4 separate regions of the Homo sapiens genome follow, and all the other regions are linked to region 1. The links are contacts of gene promoters, found by promoter capture Hi-C in human tissues and cell types (Jung and others, 2019). All regions are on one chromosome and are shown on one strand. The core of a region is centred on a gene start or on the middle of the fragment in contact, and the rest is flanking DNA. Distances in the headings are between cores, read along the strand shown.

What was found. Contacts are between HindIII fragments. The study calls those that stand out against the background at their distance.
Region 2: a contact is called between a fragment that was not itself captured here and the fragment with the promoter of EDNRB in region 1, in 1 of the 25 tissues and cell types used here (hippocampus).
Region 3: a fragment that was not itself captured here is called in contact with the fragment with the promoter of EDNRB in region 1 in 1 of the 25 tissues and cell types used here (aorta).
Region 4: a contact is called between a fragment that was not itself captured here and the fragment with the promoter of EDNRB in region 1, in 2 of the 25 tissues and cell types used here (H1 embryonic stem cells and spleen).

What each region holds. Positions count from the first base shown.
Region 1 is chr13:77,916,396-77,922,442 of GRCh38, reverse strand. It overlaps EDNRB (endothelin receptor type B), which reads left to right and starts at 3,612. Exons shown (of 7, transcript NM_001122659.3): 1 at 3,612-4,352. The coding sequence starts at 3,870. RefSeq lists a cis regulatory region at 3,246-3,255 and promoters at 3,507-3,621, 2,611-3,683. The HindIII fragment of the contact is 11,006 bases long and covers 1-6,047 here.
Region 2 is chr13:77,699,001-77,703,075 of GRCh38, reverse strand. All of the region lies in intron 1 of SLAIN1 (SLAIN motif family member 1), which reads right to left. Among named protein-coding and RNA genes, the nearest start is that of MIR3665, 2.9 kb to the right of the region's middle. The HindIII fragment of the contact is 6,253 bases long and covers 1-4,075 here.
Region 3 is chr13:77,763,425-77,769,471 of GRCh38, reverse strand. SLAIN1 (SLAIN motif family member 1) reads right to left here. Exons shown (of 7, transcript NM_001242868.2): 7 at 5,243-6,047. Among named protein-coding and RNA genes, the nearest start is that of EDNRB-AS1, 52 kb to the left of the region's middle. The HindIII fragment of the contact is 6,663 bases long and covers 1-6,047 here.
Region 4 is chr13:78,047,070-78,053,116 of GRCh38, reverse strand. The region is part of intron 5 of LINC00446 (long intergenic non-protein coding RNA 446); the gene reads right to left. Among named protein-coding and RNA genes, the nearest start is that of OBI1-AS1, 4.8 kb to the left of the region's middle. The HindIII fragment of the contact is 3,556 bases long and covers 1,739-5,294 here.

The DNA.
Region 1 (6,047 bases), core at 2,363-4,862:
TGAAAGTACTAACTTTTTTGTGTGGCTAAAAGGGCTTTTCTTTGTTCTGTCACCAGGCGAAAAGGTTTATTTTGGGAATGCTCCCCATGGCAAACCTCTTTGAGAAATGAATTCCGAATTGCATTAAACCCTGTCTTCAGGAACTTCTAGATAAAGCATTTAAAGGAAATACTGGGACATTGTCTATCTTCAACTTTCTAACTTTGAGAAGTGATCTTAGCCAATCTGGAATTTTGATAGATTTCCTAGACACTTCATAAACGTTTAAAATAAGCAACTTTGTAAAAGACTCCACATTTACCTAGCCAAAAAAAAAAAATCCTCTCATAAATGCAAAATTAGTTCACAAGTTTGCAGGTAGGAATTCTTAAAATTTGATACAACTTTTTGCTCATATATAGAAGTGAAATTTACATAGTAGTTAGTTGCTAGTGAATTCATAAATAAAATTTATCGATAACAGATTTTAAGTAATAAGATGAAAAAAAAACTATATCCATAGCAGTACTGCTCAAGGCATGAGTAATGAAAGTAACATTAAAAAAAAATATTGGCCTAGAATCTGTTTCCACTTTTCTGCACTTTAAGACACTCCTACAGAGGCAGTTTGTCAGTCGGACTGATTTATTGGAGCAAGAAGTAACTTTAATCCTTTTCTTCCATTTTACAAAAGGGGAAACTGACACCCAGTCATTCATGAAGATCAATGAACAATTCTTTACATTTCACATGGTTGTCTTTACATGTTAAGGTGAAATATTTAAGGTTAAACTTCAATTGCATATTACTGATGTCTAGAACACTGTTTCCCCAAAATAAGAAAAAAATTTGCTTAGGCTTTCTGCAATTACAATAATAAAAAGCATAGTCTGTGTAACCATTTAGACATGCATTCAAATCCTAGCTCCAAATCCTGGTCCCACAACTAACTAGCCACATGACCTTAAGTGAATTACTGAGACTCAGTTTCACTGCCTATAACATCATAGAAAATAATACAGAGCTGGAAGACAAACATCAGAGAATCAATGAGGTACTGTGAAAAGGTGTCTAATGCAGGTGGTAGACCCTGTAAGGAGTAGCTGATACTGTGTTTTAAATTCCAAATGAGGAATGTGTATATTTACCTTAAAATTGTTTGGCCTTATTCTTGAGCCCAATGACCAGTTAATAAAGTATAACTGAATACTTTAAAATATCATTATCAATTTATAAAAAATATTTCTTAAGCTCATTTTGTGGCAGGTAGTGGGATGGTGCAGAAAGAACATATAACTCATTCAAGTCCCTGTCCTGTAAAAGAAATTAAGTCACACGAAATCAATAGTGACCCATAGATGTCTCTTATGTGATCAAGTGCTTGCTAAGTTGTGGTTAACAGTCCAAAAGTGCTCCAAGAAAAGTAAAGAGATAGACCTCAGTGAGGATTAGAGCAGACTTCCAGGACTCAGTGGAGGAAATTTGAATGGAGATGGAGATGATGAGAAGGCCAGTGGGGAGAGAGAAAAGTCACCCCACAGGAGCCATAGGCATGAACCCAACAAAGCTTGTATAGGAAGGGCAGATCCAACACTGGGTGGAGTCAACTAAGCAAAATATTCATATTCCAAAGCTTCCATATAATTCCTTATTCAGACAACATTGTATATTGTTACTTGGCTCAGCAATTGAATGTTGACCTCGTTCTTACGAGACAGGGAGGATAAGGACTGCAATTCAAAATAGCCAGATTTGGAATTAGCACTCACAACCCTAGACCATATTTCTCATTCCTTTAGCCTTACTCCGTAACCATGTTCCTAACCACATTTCACACTTAAAGTTCACCTTTTTAAATAGAAATTGATTTTCTACTTCCACTGTCCCAGAAAGCATTGCCTAAGAGCCAAAAATCCAAGGTTCTTGTCCCATCTATTCCATTAACTAACATGAAGCAAAAAACGAGCCTCCTGTCTCTGGGTGAAACTGCTACATGGAATGGGTGCTTCTGGGTTTGAAGTTCCACAGATCCAGTAGGGATTTTGCTGATTGGAGGACGGCACAGTACTCTCCAGTGCATCTCCAAGCCTGACTTCCTGACCTCTTTTATACAATCTCTGGGCAAAACTACCAGTCGCTGTTATTTTCCTCTCTGCGGTAAACATGGAGCTCAAGAATGGATAGAAAGACCTTATTGTATTGCTCTACCTGGTAAATAAATATCATGTTGAATTTGCATGGCAGCTTTCTGATTATTTTCATGTCTCCGATAAGCATCAAGTCTGTCATAGGTACAGTATAAAAATGCCTGAGATTGCCTAACACCGATACTGTGGCAGGAAGAGAGGAGAAGAGCTGTACTGGGGAAAATGAGGAGTACTTGTAATCCTCTCTCGGGGCAGTGAGAGGGCCTGGGAAGAAAAGATCGAGCTGTTCCGTGTTGGGGTTAATGTTGGCTTGAAATGAAACTTCAGGGCAAAATGAAGCAGAGCAAAGAGCAGCGCCCACAAACCAACCTTAAATATCACAGCGGCGGAACATTTACCTGAAAGAAAAGTGACACTTGGCATTAAAAGTTCAATTATCACGTTCAGTGCAGAGCCTTGTTCTAGTCTGGAGCTGCCGGGTGTCACATGGTGCGTGATAACTTGCCCTTGATTTGGGTTCATTTGAAGAGCGTAGAACTCTAACAAATAAACAGCCTTTTGGGACCTGTCCCCGGACGAGGACTGCCCCCCTCCCTCGGGCAACTACTACTGATGCTGTCCAGGCATCGCCCAAGGGGAAAGGTTGCAGCGGGGTCGGAAGGCGCGGGAGGAGTCTGGCGGTGATTGATGGGAAGGGATGAATGAATAAAAGTACTTGTCTGATGGCAGCAGAGACCCCGAGCAAACGGTGGAGGCTACACTGTCTGGCATTCTCGCAGCGTTTCGTCAGAGCCGGACCCGCCTGCAGCTCAAGGGAGGCGTGCTCCTCTCCCAGAGCAGGCTGGAACCCAGCTGGGTTCCGCCTCCCGGGAAGGTGGTCTCCATTCGTCGCTCTGCATCTGGTTTGTCAGATCCGAGAGGTAAACATTCGGGCTTGGTGTTGAATTAAAATCATTGATTGAACCTTATTCTGGGGCTTCGGTTTGGCTTACTAGTTTGGGATTTTAAAAAAATAAAAATTAAGCCTATAGAGAGGGCAAATTAAAATTAGGTTGGGTAAAGGAAGGAGCGCGAGTGTTTGAAGCCGTTTGGAGGGAACAGCGGTTTCCAAGTTCCTGCTGACTTGAGAAGTCTCTGCGGGTTTCCGAATCTCCGGCGCACTCCTGGGCGCGCTGCGGGAGCTGTAGCTCAGCCAGCCAGGGAGTAGCGGCTTTCATCCGCCGGGAGGAGTCTTTCGAGTTCAATCGCGGGGTATAGAGGTTCCCCTGCGGGGCAAAATGCAGAGCTTGACACAAGCCCTTGGCCTCTAGGTGCCTTAATTCCGCGGTTCCCACGCACGCTTAACTAAGACGTGTCTGTATTCCTCCCGTTACGTGAAAGAGTTCGGAGCTTTGCCTGGGACCCCCATCATTCCCTCCCTGGCACACCCCTTCCAGAACGCCCCGCCCCACTGCATATTATTTACCCCTCCTGGCCACGCGGGGGAAGAAAAACAGCTGAGAGGGCATCAGGAAGGAGTTTCGACCCGCGCTGGCGAGTCATGAGCGCCAAGTTTCCCACTGGCGCGCAAACTTGAGTTACTTTTGAGCGTGGATACTGGCGAAGAGGCTGCGGGCGGTATTAGCGTTTGCAGCGACTTGGCTCGGGCAGCTGACCCAAGTGTCCTGTCTTCCTTCCTCTGCTTGTCTCTAGGCTCTGAAACTGCGGAGCGGCCACCGGACGCCTTCTGGAGCAGGTAGCAGCATGCAGCCGCCTCCAAGTCTGTGCGGACGCGCCCTGGTTGCGCTGGTTCTTGCCTGCGGCCTGTCGCGGATCTGGGGAGAGGAGAGAGGCTTCCCGCCTGACAGGGCCACTCCGCTTTTGCAAACCGCAGAGATAATGACGCCACCCACTAAGACCTTATGGCCCAAGGGTTCCAACGCCAGTCTGGCGCGGTCGTTGGCACCTGCGGAGGTGCCTAAAGGAGACAGGACGGCAGGATCTCCGCCACGCACCATCTCCCCTCCCCCGTGCCAAGGACCCATCGAGATCAAGGAGACTTTCAAATACATCAACACGGTTGTGTCCTGCCTTGTGTTCGTGCTGGGGATCATCGGGAACTCCACACTTCTGAGAATTATCTACAAGAACAAGTGCATGCGAAACGGTCCCAATATCTTGATCGCCAGCTTGGCTCTGGGAGACCTGCTGCACATCGTCATTGACATCCCTATCAATGTCTACAAGGTAAAGGGCGCCTGCTGAAATCATGGTGGGCTTGAGGAAGGGGGCCTGGTTGGAGACGGGGAGATGAGAAAGCTTGTAGAGGGAGCTTCCCTTTAGCTCCCTCTTAAGGTTCTGCCCCTCCTAAAAGTCAGTAATCTTTGGAACCAAATTCCATTTGGTTCTGTCCACTCATAAAAGTCAGTAACCATTGGAATAAAATTCCATTCAGGTCTTCAGTAGACCTCTGCTAAGCTTAGGACAAGCGTAGTCCCCAGTCTAGCAATGTTAGTATCACTTTGGGAACTTGGTGCACATGAAGATTTTTCTGGCCTCACCCCAGACCTACTGAATCAGAAACTCTGGAGTGGAGCACAGTAATTTGTATTTTAACAAGCCCTTTATGTGATTATGATGAACTGTAAAGTTTGAGAACCACTAGTCCTGAAGGATCTAGTCCCTAAGTGCACCTAATGGGGTACATCCTCTAGTCAAAAGTGTGTGGTCCATGGACAGTCAGCATCAATATTACCTGAGAGTTTGTTAGGAATGCAAGGCTACCTCAGACTTACTAAGTTAGAATCTGCATCTTAAGATCTTCATGTGATTGATATGCCCACTAACTTTGGGAAGGACTGTTTTGGAAGACTTTGAAAGTAGCAGGTACAAAGTAGGTATTTAGGAAATAAATGGCCTGGAAAAAAGAGATCCAGACTGGTGAGTAGGAAAAACACAGTTCACCTGCTGTGACGGACTGTAGCTACTTTGTATTAAATATCTACAGTGGGCCAAGGACTGGGTGAGATGTGTTACTTCCATTATTCCTTCCAGCAGCCCACAAGTAGATATTACAATTAGTTTACAGATGACTGGTAGGATGATCAAAGTAAATGAATTAGAGGTGGAGCTGGGGATCAGACCCAATCTGTCAGGTTCCAAAGTGCAAGCTATATGATGGCACCCCATCAATTATTTCATGGACAAGACCAAGGAGCACTCAAAATCTGTAAGGGTTTCGGTAGTTAACATTATTGTGTGATTACCATGGGCGTCAGTAGAAACACACAAAGAGCCAGGTTGCTCCAGGTTGCTTTGGAACTCCAGACACATCCCAGCACCTCTGGGCCTCAGTTTCCTCAATTCCACAATAAGGCTGCCAGTGCCCACTTACTGAGGCTTTATGGTGTTAAAAAAAAAAAAGCAGTCTAAATAAAACAGTTGGAAAATTTCAAAGACATATGAAAATATTTAAAACTTTCCCAGCAGCAGCAGCAGCAGCAGCAATAGAAAGTTGCACATAAAAACACAATCACAGTGTAAGGAAATGGAATTGTGCTTTGCAGATTTGCCTATAGCTAGCCCTGACTTCAGTACTTCAGTACAAGGGGAAAAAAATGGAATGTAAAGTTGGGAAATGTTGTAGGGAATGCTTTGACCTATTGGCAGGAGTAGTTACCATAAGGCATGCCTGTAAATTTCCCTTCATAAATCTCTAAAAATCCTAACCCAATAGCTATATTTTAAGGGGAATTCCGAACATTTCTGAGGTTTAGCGGTGAGAGTGGATTAGGATATAGTTTTCTCTAAAGGGAATCACCCCCGGAAATGGGGGAATCGATTGAAGAAATCCTAAAATCCTGTATGGCAATTGATTCTGATGAACTGTGAGGATTTACTTGGTAAGAGCTGAAATTGAATCTCTAAATGCAGCCACAACTC
Region 2 (4,075 bases), core at 1-2,500, 220 kb after region 1:
CTTATTTTTATCGTGGCATTTTCTCATATAGAACCATCTTCCTGGTTGAGGTGTGCAAGACCTAACTTCCCTTCAGAGTACTATACTATCTTCAGTGCTTTTCCACCTGCTTTCTCCGTTTTGCTTTCAAACAGTATAGAGTTTTGTTAACTTTGATCATAATGCAAAAATACGTTTAATATTTCCACATCTATAAAACTAAAACATATTTAATCAAAGCAAGCATTGTATTATAAGATGTGATAAACTCTGATTTTCTATTCTACTGCACTTCACTTTTTTAAAATGCTGGTCAATCCACTAAATTGACTTTATAAACTTACTAATGAGTTACACAGCTAGCTCTGGGGAAAAAAAAATATCAGTGATGTAAACACTTCTGAATCTGGACAAATAATCTGATTTTTAGTCTGAACTCTATCAGTAACTAGAAGAGCTTACATAAGCCATTTTGCCTCAGAGCTCCCGTCCCTCAACACTGAAATAAGAGGGCTGAAACAGGTCATAGGAAGGTCTAGTATGCAGTTAGCTAATGGCTCCCATTGCCACTTCAGACCAATCTGAATTACTCTGTTTGTACTCTGGTGCTGCAGAGCCTGGTGACATTAGGACAAATATAAATCTTAAAAACATTTCTTCCATAAAGATAGAAAAAGCATCCAATCACACTGTGTCCCATGTATGCATGGATATTTTAGTCCCTTTGAGCTTTTTATTTGCTCCTGATACTCAGACTTTTCCCTTTTCCTTTCTAGCCAATGGCCTTCTGGAGAGCTAAGCCTATCAAATTAGTAAGATAACTGAGGAATCAGTATAGCAGGATGAGAGTTTTACTATAGGGCTATAAGATGACTTAAGAATTCAGGTTCACGATAGCAAAGACTTGGAACCAACCCAAATGTCCAACAATGATAGACTGGATTAAGAAAATGTGGCACATATACACCATGGAATACTATGCAGCCATAAAAAATGATGAGTTCATGTCCTTTGTAGGGACATGGATGAAATTGGAAATCATCATTCTCAGTAAACTATCGCAAGAACAAAAAACCAAACACCGCATATTCTCACTCATAGGTGGGAATTGAACAATGAGATCACATGGACACAGGAAGGGGAATATCACATTCTGGGGACTGTAGTGGGGTGGGGGGAGGGGGGAGGGATAGCATTGGGAGATATACCTAATGCTAGATGATGAGTTAGTGGGTGCAGCGCACCAGCATGGCACATGTATACATATGTAACTAACCTGCACAATGTGCACATGTACCCTAAAACTTAAAGTATAATAATAAAAAATAAATAAATAAGTAAAGAAAGAAAGAAAGAAAGAAAGAATTCAGGTTCTGGAATTGCCATCAACTTTAACTTTCTGAGACACTTAATTCCAGCAATACTGTGCTAAGATAATCAGGTAGTATTAAGGCAACATTCAAGACTTAAAATTCAATTAAGATAAATATTCAAAGAAATAAGAAAATTGTTTCATCAAAGCTTTTTTGTCAAAAGGGAGAGCATAACACTCCATTCTCTTTAAAGCTGTTTTTTTTAAGATACTACTTATAGGTTAAATAATTATTCAGAAAAATGATCTCAAAGACCTGGTTAATCATTAACTAATGAACTATCATAAAGAAAATATTGGTTCTGTTAGTCATGATTTTCCTTACACACATAACTCTTAACCCAAATATTGTCCAAGTTGTTAATAAAAGGAAAATAATGTATTCTAAGGTTTTATTAGAAAAGATATACTTACATAAAAGAATAGCTAAAATATCCAGTGATTAATCTACATTTGTAAACTTTCCTGAACTTATGACATTTTTAGCAGGAAGTGCTATTCTAAATAAATAAGCAAACACATTTTGTTCAACCCATTAGGATGAAATCACAATAAAAAATGCATGAAAAACTGTAGGTGATACAGTTAACAGTAACTTGTTCCTTAATATTGTTACTCTAATAATGATGCCTTTGTTACTGGGAGATGTGATGTCACATGAATACACAAATGTCCAATGTATGTTCAATGAAAGGCAAGTGTTAAAAAAAACTGATGTGTATATGTTTGTATATTGATTGTTGTAATTATATTTTTTTATCTTGAAGGAGCTGCAGAGTATTAACAGGGTGAATTCTGAGTCACGGTAATAAATTGGGGACAAGGAAGATAATTTTTGTGACCTTATACCTACATCTATGTTTTAGTTTTTTTACAATGAGCATGTAAAACTTGTAGTTTTAAATATTTTTAAAATAAGGTACTATATACCCACTCCAGTTGTTTCTTAATAAACACAGGAAATAAAAATAAGTTGCCATCCTGCAAACATATCAGGGAACCAAATGAACAGCACTCTTATTTCTGAGACCACACTACTGGGACACTATAGTCTGCAGTGATAAAGGAACAGAGTGCTTTGCAAGCATTAACAAGTGGGTTAAACTTTAAAAATTAAACCCTGTTGATATTTTCTTCATCAAAAAGATTTGCAATGCAAACAAAATCTTGATGCATAAAATGTAATAATAAAATTATGTAAATCAGGTAACTTTAAAATTTTTAAGACCATCCCACTAAGATTAATGAACCCTCCTTGTTTTTCCACCTGGAATTCTAATCTCAGGCTTGTTTTCAGGAAGATTCTCTGCCATTTGTCTCTAGAAACATTTGTAAAGCATCAAGGCTTTGATTTATTCACCTGTGTACTTGTTGAATGAAATAGAACCTGCTTCAACTTTGATTTGCTTCAAACCATCTGAAGAGCTAATATACTAATACCACTAAGTGGGTGATTTCTGTTAAAGTTGATTATTTCAATGCTATTTGGACAAAATTAAACTATAAAAAGAAAGCCTAGGTACCAAAATGCTAGTAATAGGATGCTAACTAAATATGACAGAAATCCATTCAAAAGAAGGAAAGTTATTAATAGATTACTAATCTCATATTTACAAACAATATCACAATAAATTTTAAAATGCAAATATTTTAAGCATAAAACTGATCCCATATATCTCCCCATCAAAAATGTAAACAAGTTTCCTTCCACTGTTTACATACATACCATCAGAAAAGGCTAAGTAGGGACTAAATCAACCTAAAATAATTTGAAAGTGGCATAAGGGCTGAGAGTTATTAGTGAAATCTAAGGACCATCATGAGAGCATTTTCTAGTACCACATTCAGACTGAAACTGAGATTACTTTACAGAAATAAGGGTGCAGCTTTGAAAAAATGGCTTAAAGTTCCCAAAAGTGATGAGTTGTTTGATTTTTTTACACCTTGAGCTACCTGCACAGCTGCCAAAAAGTATTAAGGTGGATGATGAATACACCTCTGAAAGGCTTACTGTAACTCCATATATTTTGATTCTTGAATGAAACCAATTAACTAATGTACTTTACAGTTAGAGCTCTCACATGACAGAGTGTAAGGGAAAAGGAACACTGCAGTTCCCAATAGGAAACCAGTAAGGATCTCCATTTCCCAATCCCTTCCATGCAATCATGCAACAGAGACACAAAGAAAGTAATGAAAACACAGCTTGGAAAAACAGAAAGGGTCCTACATAAAAAGGACCTAAAGTAAAGAAGGACTACAGCAAGCCTCCCCCTAAAGTTACTCATTCATGGAAAGTAGACAGTGCTAACCAGATGTCAACTGAATAAATGCTGTCAGCCTCAAGTTTTCTGATAACCAAGCTAAAAAGTTTCCAAGAAATAAGAAAATAAGGCTTCTCTAATCTCACTTTTCTTCTACAGTTTAATTTAAAAAATTAAAGACAGTTCGTTGGTTCCTAGGTAAAAAAATAAATAAATAAATAAAAAAGTCCCTCCCACCTGTTCATTCCACTCCAAGAAAAGTCCTCTTTATTGGCACTATTTATGGGAAAGCCAGTGAGGTCACCCCATTTTAAAAAGCAAGTCAGTCTCTGAAAATAAGATTTCAATGAAAATGCAACGCAAAAGGGCACACGACTGCAAAATTCAAACAGCAAGAACGAACCTCTCTATAAAGAGAGATCCATCACTGCGCGGCTTCCGATGCCACCCGAGGAGGAAG
Region 3 (6,047 bases), core at 1,537-4,036, 150 kb after region 1:
TTAAATGCTACCACACTGGTTACCACACTGGTTCAATTCTTCATCATCTCATTTGAAAGACCGAAATACTTGAATTCATCCTGGTAGCATCTACACTTGGCCTCCTACAATCCATCCTCACCAAGTGCCAGGTTAATGCTTTTTAAAATAAGTCAAATCCCATACTCTGCTGCCCAAACCCATGCAACAGCTTCCTGTTTCAGAGTTAAGTCAAAGTCCATTTGTAGCCCACCATATCCTACCTGGCCTTGCCCCATCACCTTTCTGAACTCATTTCTATGGCTTTCCTCTTTGTTCCCTGTTTGCAGACACACTGGCCTCCTTGCTCTTCCTCAAACACACAGGCATGCTCCACCTCACAGCCTTCCTCCACACAGGCTATTCCCTCTTTTTTTAGCAGCTTTCCTCAAAGGGTATTCTGCAAATCATCCAGAGGGCTCATTCAATAGATCTGGGATGATGCTTGAGAATATCAGCTTCTAACAAATTCTCAAAAGATGCTGCTGGTGTTAGAATTACACTTTGAAACCACTGCCCTGGGACATCCGCTATCTATAATGTATTAAATTATTTCCTGTGCATTTAAAATAATAATAGTTATAAACCCTCCTGGGAAGAACTGTGAAAATAGTCACTACAACTATTTCATGTTCTGTAGAACTCCAGATGAAAAAGGTTGTGAAACATCTTCAGGACTAACTCTCCATCGTCAAGCCTTTGCTCATACTAGCTCCTTAACGATATTGAAGTGGCATCGTTTGTCTGGGGAAACACCCGAGGTTCGTTGTCTCGCACTAAGAAAAATGAAGACCACAAGGTGTGGGTTTAAGAGCGGAAAGTTTAATAGGTGAAAGAAACAAAAGAAAAGCTGCCCCATGTAGAGGGAGGGGGATTCCGAATGGATCTCCCTGTTAGCAGCGGGATGCGGTTGGTTTTATAGAGGGGCTCGAGGAGGCGGTATCTGATTTACATAAGGCCCAGGGGATTGGTTGGACCAGGTGTGACATTTACATAGCCCTCGAAGACGCTGGCCATCCCACTCTAATCTTTTATTATACAGATGGGGTTTCTACCTGGCCAGCGCCATGACACCTGCACATGTGGTGACAAGGAAAAGGGAAGAGAAAACCTCCATGTTGGATGCTTCTGGCACGGCTGCCGGCATTCACGTATGCAAGCTTCCAGTTGCTTATCTATGTTTGCAGCTTGATTTTTCAGGCTGCTTTTTTTTTGTTAGAAAAGAAATGATTTGGGGGCTGCCTTTTCATTAAAGGAAAACCTTACCAAAGACTCCTGTACCCTCACTAACTGCCTAAATAATTTAACTCCTATATTAATATCTACTGAGGTGACCCTTTTAATAGTATGATTTCTCCCCACCCCTATTTTCTCTTAACTCCTCTTGTCTTGATCTCCTCTTTTCCCCCACAGAACTTATGACCTAACCTGCAGTGATTTTCTTACCTGTTTATGGTTTCTCCCCAACAAGAATGTAAAAGCCAAGATGAAGGGATCTTTGTTATTTTATTGCAAGGGCTAAGCAGACTTTTTTGAATATAAATCAAACATTTGAATGGAGAACGAATCGAATCCTTTTTCTCTGCAGAATAAAAAGTGATTAAAAAAAATACCAGCTACCTGTGTTCATTGGAAGAGAGCATAGTTGTGGGGAAAAATAAGACTTTTGAGCCAGATAAACCTGGATTCAAAGGTAAGCTGCACTATTTAAACATTGCTAAATGTTTACCCAAGACTAATGTCACTAATATGGTTTGGATATTTTGTCCCCTCCAAATCTCATGTTGAAATGTAATCCCCAGTGTCGAAAGTGGGTTAGTGGGAGGTTTGTGGCTCATGGGACAGATTCCCTCTTGAATGGCTTGGTGTCCTCCCCAGGGTAATATGTCCGCATGAGAGCTCTAAAGAGCCTGGCACCTCCGCCCTCTCTCTCTTGTTCCCTCCCACCGTGTGATACACTGACTTCCCCATTTGCCTTCTGCCGTTATTGTAAACTTCCTGACTCCTCTTGGGAAGCTGAGCAAATGTTGGCACCATGCTTCCTGTACACTCTGCAGAACTGTGGGCCAGTTAAACCTCTTTTCTTTATAAATTACCCAGCCTCAGGTATTTCTTTACAGCAATGCAAAAAAATAAACACAGAAAATTAGTACTGAGGAGTAGGGCATTGCTATAAAGATAACTGAAGATGTGGAAGTGGCTTTAGAACAGGGTAACAGAGGTTAGAAGAGTTTGGAGGGCTAACGACAGGAAGATGAGAAAAAGTTTGGGACTTCTTAGAAACTGATTGGAATGGTTATGACTAAAATGCTGACAAGAGATATGGACAGTGAAGGCCAGGCTGAAGAGGCCTCAAATGCAAATGAGGAACTTATTGGGAATTGGAGTAAAGGTCCCCCTTGTCGCTCCTTAGCAAAGAGCTTGCTGCATTGTGCCGATGTCCTAGGAATCTGTGGAAGGTTGAACTTAAGATGACTTAGGGTATCTGGCAGAAGTTTCTAAGCAGCAAAACATTCAAGAAGTGCTGTGGCTGCTTCTAACAGCCTATAATCAGATACAGAAGCAAAGAGATGACTTAAAAGTCAGAATATATATTTAAAAGGGAAGCAGAGAGTAAAATTTGGAAAAGTCAGCCGGGTGCAGTGGCTCACACCTTGTAATCCCAGCACTTTGGGAGGCTGAGGTAGGCAGATCAACCTGAAGTCAGGAGTTTGAGAATAGCCTGGCCAACATGGCAAAACCCTGTCTCTACTAAAAATACAAAATTAGCCAGTGTGGTGGTGAATGTCTGTAGTCCCAGCTACTCTACTCTGGAGGCTAAGGCAGGACAATCACTTGAACCCAGGAGGTGGAGGTTGCAGTGAGCTGAGATCATGCCACTGCACTCTAGCCTGGACAACAGAGCAAGACTCTGTATAAAACAAAACAAAACAAAACAAAAAAATTGGAAAAGTCACAGCCTGGCCCTGTGGTAGAGAAGGAATCCAAGTGGCCTGTGGAGTAACCACTTGAGAGATCAGCATGACTGAAAAAGAGCGAAGAGAATAGGGAAAAGGCCTCAAATGTATTTCAGAAATCTCTGAGGCAGCCCAATGCATCACAGGCTCAGGAGGCCTATGGGGGAAGAATGGTTTAAGGGGCCAGGCCCAGGGCCCCACTGCGCTGTGCAGTCTCAGGGTATCGTTCCCTGCATCCCAGCCACTCTGGGCCCAGCCTCGGCTCAAAGGGCCACAGGCACACCTTGGGCTGCCTCTTTAGAGGGCAAGTCATGAGCCTTGGTGGCTTCCACATGGTGTTAAGTCTGAAAGTACACAGAATGCAAGAGTGAAGGAGGCATGGCAGCTTTCACCTAGATTTCAGTGGATGCATCAGAAAGCCTGGGTGGCCAGGCAGAAACCTGCCACAGAGGCAGAGCCCTCACAGCAGCCTCTACCAGGGCAGTGCTAAGAGCAAATGTGGAGTTGGAGGCCCCCCTGCAGAATTGCCACTGGGGATGGCCTAGTGGAGCTGTGGGAAGGGGGTTGCCGCCCTTCATACCCCAGAATGGTAAAGCCACTGGCAGTTTACATCCTGAGCCTGCAAAAGCTGCAAGCACTCAACTCCAGCCCATGAGGGCAGCCACATGAGCTGCACCCAGTAAAACCACAGAGGCAGAGCTGCCCAAGGCCTTGGGAGCCCACCCCTTGCACCAGTGTGTCCTGAATGGAGGACATGGGGTCAAAGGAAATTATTTTGGAGCTTTAAGATTTAATGACTACCATGCTGGGTTTCAGACCTGTATGTGGCCTGTTGCCCCTTTCTTTTGGCCAATTTCTCCCTTTTGGAATGGAAATGTTTGCCCAATGCCTGTACCACCATTATCTTGGAAGTAAATAACTTGTTTTCATAATACAGGCTCATAGGTGGAAGGAGATGAGTTTCACATCAGACTTAGGACTTTGGACTTGATGTTGGAATGAATTAAAACTTTGGGGGACTGTTGGAAAGAGAAGATTACATTTTGCAATCCAAGGAGGGCATGAGACTTGGGGGCCGGGGTAGAACGATATGGTTTGTATATCTGTCTGCTCCAAATCTCATGTTGAAATGTGATCCCCAGTGTTGGAGGTGGGGCCTGGTGGAAGGTGATTGGATCATGGGGGCAGATCCCTCATGAACGGCTTAGTGCCATCCCCTGGGTGATAAGTGAGCTCTTGTTCTGAGTTCACACAAGATCTTGTTGTTTTTTTAAAAAGTGTAGAAACCCCGCCCCACCCCTTGCTCTCACTCTCACCATGTGATGCACCAGCTCCCCCTTTGCCTTCCGCCATGACTGTGAGCTTTCTGAGGCCTCACCAGAAGCCAAGCAGATGCTGGCACCACGCTTCCTGTACACCCTGCAGAACTATGAGCCAATTAAACCTCTTTTCTTCATAAATTACCCAGTCTCAGGTATTCCTTTATAGTGATGCAAAAACTGACAAATAATCACCTCTGTGGGACTTAGTGTCTTCATCTTTAAAATGGTGATAATAGTAGGTGAAAGTTAGTCCTAGACAAATGTATATAAAATATCTTGCACAGTTCTTTTGACTGAAGGGGTGCTTAATAAATATTACTTCCCTTTTCATATCTTACCTCCTCTAGCTCACATTCCACTTAAAGTGCAAGTTATTTAAACAAACATTCCTTTTAGTTCTAGAGAGAATTACATACAAAGGTACACTTTAAAAAAACTAAAAACCTCTAATGACTATAGGTAGAACTCCATTTCAAAACCTAACCTAAAAATCTTTGCCTAAACTTCCCACAGTACCTTCAAGTAAAGTTTTCCAACATATATCAAATATAATGCAGAATAAGGATAGTACTTGCTATTTTACTGATACTGAGAAAGTATTTCAAATTCAACTCCTATAAAATATTAAAATCTCCACTGACAATGTTCATCTGTAAATGTGTTTCTCAGCAACATGCTGCGTGAGTTTTAGTGGCCTCTTTAAATGGACCTAAACCTCCCTGTAAAACTACCTAACTAAAACTAATGTAAGAAAAATCATACAATTCTTATCAGGAGTACTTGGGAAAAGAAGAATAATTTTACAAATGTGAATATTCTAAGTCTACCTGCTTGAGATATAAATGCCCTGCACAAGAACAGAGTAACAATAAGCATTTTCACAATTGTAGTGAAACACATGTGTAGTTACACTGTTTATGCTGTACATTCATGCATGACCTGATATTGCTGAAATAGAGTCTTTATTTCTGAACATTCCAAAACAGCAGTGTACACAGTAACAAATATTAAGTTATATGCCATAAGAAAGCATTCATTAGTGCAAATGGATTTTGTAAAAGGTCTATCAAAAAGATTTATTTGCTTTAAAATGCATTCATTTCCAGAAGCATTGTTAATAAAACATTACAGTTTCATCCTTCGTAATAAAGTATTGAAAATCAATTGTGGTACAGTAGCAAACATTGCAGGTATTAAGTGCAATGAGCTCATGATGCCGTTATAAATATGAAACCCATGTATGACAATAAATTAAAAATGAAAAAGACAGGACCATTTAATTCTGCTGTCTGGTTATCTCCTTGCAATGCTTCAAATTATGTTGTGCTCATTCAACACAAAATTATGTGTCTCAAATTGCATGATGTGTTTTTGCTGATATATCCCTAGAGCTAAAAAAATAGTACCTTACCACAAAAATATTTTTATGGCACAAAATTTAAGTTGTTCCATAGTGGTTCACATAGGTGTAAAAAGAAATAGGCACAAAAAATAAAATTCCTGTAAACTATAAAAAAGTAAATTTCAAAGCATACATTATAGAACCTAGTTGTCAATATGCAATGTATTAAAATACAGAACATGTAATGGAAAGATGTTTAGAACACGTGAGTAAATTGAACAAGTTACTTTAAAAAACTCATATGGCAAAGCATTATTGATACATCTTAATTCTCTCAAAAAGTATTCAGGTACAGAGCAGTTCTACAAAAACTTCCTAGATCTAAGTGTCACAATACTGCAACCATGG
Region 4 (6,047 bases), core at 2,267-4,766, 130 kb before region 1:
GGGATGACATGTTCTAAGCCCCAACCAGGGCCATGGCAGTGCCTAAGATATAGCACACACACTCAAGGAAAGCCCCAGTCAGTGGCATTGCCTTAAGGTGAACTCAAACTGCCGACCTGAAGGGATGTCTGTGATGCAAATTATTATTTCCATGTCTATTCAGTTTGCTTTTCTTTCTCTCAGTTAAAGGGAAAGAATATCCCAAGTCTTTGTATTCAGAGGAATGTTCATCCTCATTCTCTGAATATCCATCCAGAGGGGCTAGAGAAGTGAAGTGAGAAATTATAGGTGTTTACACAATCATGACAAATAGAAGACACTTGGATGCAACACTACCAACATCCCTTGCTGTCTTTTACCCTAAATTACTTGTGAAATTGAAATATAGTTACAAAAGCATCTTCCTCATTTCAAACAAAAATTGTAAAATGTATAAGTTACAATTAAGAGGTTATAATTCTTAAAAGAATTCCAAAAAGCAAAAGCTTCCAAGTAAGTGTGAATCACATCAGAAAAGTTGAGAAAATAATTTTTAAAAAGTAGAATGAGGGAGGCAATCCTGGATCTTATTGACAGGGCAATGAAAGTAATAGCACATGGACTTTTCATTACATTGTTTCTTAAGCTGGTATTATGTGAAATATAATAAAATGATTGGTATCACCCTAGAGACATCTGAACCATCAAAAACTGGAGAGCAAGAAAAAAATGACTAATGGAGAATCTCCATGCTGTTGCTGTAGTTTAAACTGACAGAAAGCTCCCCCTCTCCCTTTCACTCATTGTGGACTCACCCTTAGGACTAGCTCTGGTGATGGTCTCCAGGCTCAACTGACGTCACTTCAGGTCTTTTTGGAGTCTGTCTCTTTCTCTATTTTCTGCCCAGTCAGATACCACTGTAGCCTAGTGCACTTCATTTTAAATGAACTTAGGAAAATGTTTCTGAACATCTTTTAAAAAAAAGTACTGTTTTTCTATCTTTTTAATCCATGTAATACTTTCACTTGATTTTTTGGAAAAATTTACATGGTGCTGAAAAGCATATGTAACTCAACCCAAATCAATAGAAGCAAAGGTTTCTGTTTTCGTAGTTGCCTCTACATTTCCATAGTACTTGCTTATGTAGCTATTTCTTGATTGGTTAGTTTCAGACATCATGTATTGACTTACCTTTAGATGAGAAAAGGACTTACCCTCCTTGCACTATATCCTGCCTTCCCATTTTAGATATATCATCATATCTCATTAAACAGTTAAGCCTTACATTAATAAGTCTATGTAAATACAATAATTGATTAAACAGTCAGAAAGTTACTATGATTCTATTTGCTTTTGTGCTTCAGACTTTTTCTTGCTCTTGCCATATATATTAATCAAATACTGTTAGTTCTAAATCGTCCATCTACCATATCAAGTGCTCTTTTATTCTGTGGATCTTCCTTTCTGTCTACCTTCCTGCTCCAAACCAAACTGGCAAATCTCTAAACCTGTCTGTGTGTGACAGATACTTAATATATTATTGGGAAACTTCATGGCAGTATATAGAGATATTCCTCATTCCTTTATTTTACTTTTTAATTTTTTTCAGTTAACAATGGAGTCTCGTCCTGTCTCCCAGGTTGGAGTGCAGTGGCATGATCATAGCTCACTGTAACCTTGAACTCCTGGGTTCCAGCAATCCTCCCACCTCAGCCACCCAAGTAGCTAGATCTAGAGGTGCATGCAACCATGCCCATTTTTTTCATTTTAATACTTTTTTTATTGTAGACATAGAGCCTCACTTTGTTGCCCAGGCTGGTCTTGAACTCCTATCCTCAAGTGATCCTCCCACATCAGCCTTCTAAAATGCTCAGATTAGTGACATGAGCCATGGCACCTGGCCCCTCATTCCTTTTTATAGCCGCATGGTATTTCATTGCTTGGGTCCACTATATTTTATTCCAGCAGTCCCCTACATATAGAATTTTTTCTCTTTAGCTTTTTGCTTTTGAAATAGTGTTGTATCAAACAGCTTTGAGCATAAGCCTTTTATTTTTTATTGATTCCTAGAATTGGTATTACTTGGTCAGAGAATAAATTTATATGCAATTATTCTAGATATTGCTAAATTTCCTTCCATTGGGTTTTATATTTTTGCGCTCTCTTCAGTTATAAATATAATTGCATGTTCACTCATAATCTCTCAAACAGAGTACTTGTCAAATTTAGGGAAATCTTTCAAATTGATAAATCAGAAATTGGATCATAATTTTGAGTGCAGTGGCGCAATCTCGGCTCACTGCAACCTCCTCCACCTCCCTGGTTCCAGCAATTCCCCTGCCTCAGCCTCCCGAGTAGCTGGGCTTACAGGCACATGCCCGCAGGCCCGGCTAATTTTTAGTAGAGACAGGGTTTCACCATGTTGGCTAGACTGGAATAATCATGTTCTTAATCTGTATTTTGCTTATTGTGAGTGAGACTAAGCATTTTTTTCACATTATTCACAAATATTTAAACTTATCAATTCACTCTGCTCATATTCTATAGCTCATTTTAGAATTACAGAAAATCATTTTATTTTAATCTATTATTATTTTAATGACAAACTAGCTTAGAATCAGGTCATTTTCTATAGGATTACTGGCCTCTTCTGTATTTTAGAAGCTATTTATATAAAAAGACATTGACTTTTTATCTATGATATAAGTAAACACATATCTGGTCTTGTTATAAATTTTGCAAGAAATATTCCCCTGTGAAATAAAGTGATGGTTATTAGAATAGAAGTTATATAACATATACTGCTGAATTAAGGACTTAATCCATCAATTCCAACCTTATTCGATCCTTTTACTTTTTTAAAACATGATAGATTTTGAATTTTGTCAAATGCCTTTTCTGTGTCTATATAAGCAGATATAAGCATGAGGTGTTTTATCTTAACTCTAATGTGTTAGATTTCATTAATGGGACTTCCTGATATTTAACGACTCTTCAATTCCTAGAATAAAGCTTACTTGGTCATAATGTATAGAGTTTTTAAATAAATCTATTTGCTAGTAATTGATCTAAGATTTTAATGCAGATATTTATAAATGGGATCGGTCTGCAGTTTTCTTTTTTCATTGAATCTGTCAGGTTATAGAAGAAAATATTTTGCTGATTTTATAAAAATAAAAGTTTAACCTCTTTTCCCCTGGACTGGAAAGACTTAAGGTGCATTGAGATTATATGATGTTTAACGTGCACTTTAGAGAATGAAGTAAGAAGTTTGTGAAGCCATCAAAGTCTAAAGCTTTTATTGTGATGGAGCTTGTTAGCTGCTTCCCCTTTTCTTCTATGGCAATTGCTGTCTTTAGATATTCTCTCTACTGGGGCCAATTTGAGTAAGCAGTATTTTTATACAAAATTTTCTTGAAAACTGGCATAAGACAGGGATGCCCTCTCTCACCACTCCTATTCAACATAGTGTTGGAAGTTCTGGCCAGGGCAATCAGGAAAGAGAAAGAAATAAAGGGTATTCAATTAGGAAAAGAGAAAGTCAAATTGTCCCTGTTTGCAGATGACATAATTGTATATTTAGAAAACCCCATCATCTCAGCCCAAAATCTTCTTAAGCTGATAAGAAACTTCAGCAAAGTCTCAGGATACAAAATCAATGTGCAAAAATCACAAGCATTCCTATACACCAATAACAGACAAACAGAGAGCCAAATCATGAGTGAACTCCCATTCACAATTGCTTCAAAGAGAATAAAATACCTAGGAATCCAACTTACAAGGGATGTGAGGACCTCTTCAAGGAGAACTACAAACCACTGCTCAACGAAAGAAAAGAGGACACAAACAAATGGAAGAACATTCCATGTTCATGGATAGGAAGAATCAATATTGTGAAAATGGCCATAGTGCCCAAGGTAATTTATAGATTCAACACCATCCCCATCAACTTACCAATGACTTTCTTCACAGAATTGGAAAAAACTACTTTAAAGTTCAAATGGAACCAAAAAAGAGCCCGCATTGCCAAGAAAATCCTAAGCCAAAAGAACAAAGCTGGAAGCATCACGCTACCTGACTTCAAACTACACTACAAGTCTACAGTAACCAAAACAACGTGGTACTGGTACCAAAACAGACATGTAGACCAATGGAACAGAATAGAGCCCTCAGAAATGATACCACACATCTACAACCATCTGATCTTTGACAAACCTGACAAAAACAAGAAATGGGGAAAGGATTCCTTGTTTAATAAATGGTGCTGGGAAAACTGGCTAACCATATGTAGAAAGCTGAAACTGGATCTCTTCCTTACACCTTACACAAAAATTAATTCAAGATGGATTCAAGACTTAAATGTTAAACCTAAAACCATAAAAACCCTAGAAGAAAACCTAGGCAATACCATTCAGGCCATAGGCATGGGTAAGGACTTCATGACTAAAACACCAAAAGCAATGGCAACAAAAGCCAAAATTGACAAATGGGATCTAATTAAACTAAAGAGCTTCTGCACAGCAAAAGAAACTACCATCAGAGTGAATAGGCAAAGTACAGAATGGGTGAAAATTTTTACAATCTACCCATCTGACAAAGGGCTAATATCCAGAATCTACAAAGAACTTAAACAAATTTACAAGAAAAAATCAAACAAACCCATTAAAAAGTGGGTGAAGGATATGAACAGACACTTCTCAAAATAAGACATTTATGCAGCCAATAGACACATGAAAAATTGCTCATCATCACTGGCCATCAGAGAAATGCAAATCAAAACCACAATGAGATATCATCTCACACCAGTTAGAATGGCGATCAATAAAAAGTCAGGAAACAACTGGTGCTGGAGAGGATATGGAGAAATAGGAACACTTTTACACTGTTGGTGGGACTGTAAACTAGTTCAACCATTGTGGAAGACAGTGTGGCAATTCCTCAAGGATCTAGAACTAGAAATGCCATTTGACCCAGCCATCCCGTTACTGGGTATATACCCAAACGATTATAAATCATGCTGCTATAAAGACACATACAAACATATGTTTATTGCAGCACTATCCACAATAGCAAAGACTTGGAACCAACCCAAATGTCCATCAATGATAGATTGGATTAAGAAAATGTGGCACATATACACTGTGGAATATTATGCAGCCATTAAAAAGGATGAGTTCATGTCCTTTGTAGGGACATGGATGAAGCTAGAAACCATCATTCTGAGCCAACTATCACAAGGACAGAAAACCAAACACTGCATGTTCTCACTTATAGGTGGGAATTGAACAATGAGAACACCTGGACACAGGGTGGGGAACATCACACACCAGGGCCTGTCCTGGGGTTGGGGGAGGGGGGAGGGATAGCATTAGGAGATATACCTAATGTAAATGATGAGTTAATGGGTGCAGCACACCAACATGGCTCATGTATACATACATGACAAACCTGCACGTTGTGCACATGTACCCTAGAACTTAAAGGATAATAATAATAAAAAATATATGTATCTATTTTATCTATGTTTTAAAATTTAAGTTGCCTACAGGTTTTTTAGTTTTTTTGTTTTTAATAAAAATCCTACTGTATACAACATTAAACATGGACACACATCTTACTCTCAATATTTCAATAGTACCACCTGGGCTATGATAATCTCATCATAGCTACTATTAAACAATATATTAGTTTTATATTCTTAACTTGAATGTATTGTACTTTAAGTTGTACTCTTTTATATTTAGCTAAATTTACTTATAGACTTTCTACTAATTGGCAATTTGCCAGCTTACAGGTGGACATGTGTGCTACTTCTGTATATTTTTATTGCAAAGAAATCCTGTAGAAGACCTGCTAGAAAGGTCTCCCTTCTTTTCCAGTGAAGCGTACTTTGGCAGATGAAGCAAGAGAAGATTTAGGTAGTCAAGCAAAATTTAACATCTCTCTCTTCTATAGTTACACTGAAACATTTTCCAGACCTTGACAAGTCTTTGCGACAACGCCCTCATTCTTATACCATTTCCTCCTTTATGGTTCCCTAAGCCCTCATCTCTTTTTATCTCTTCTAC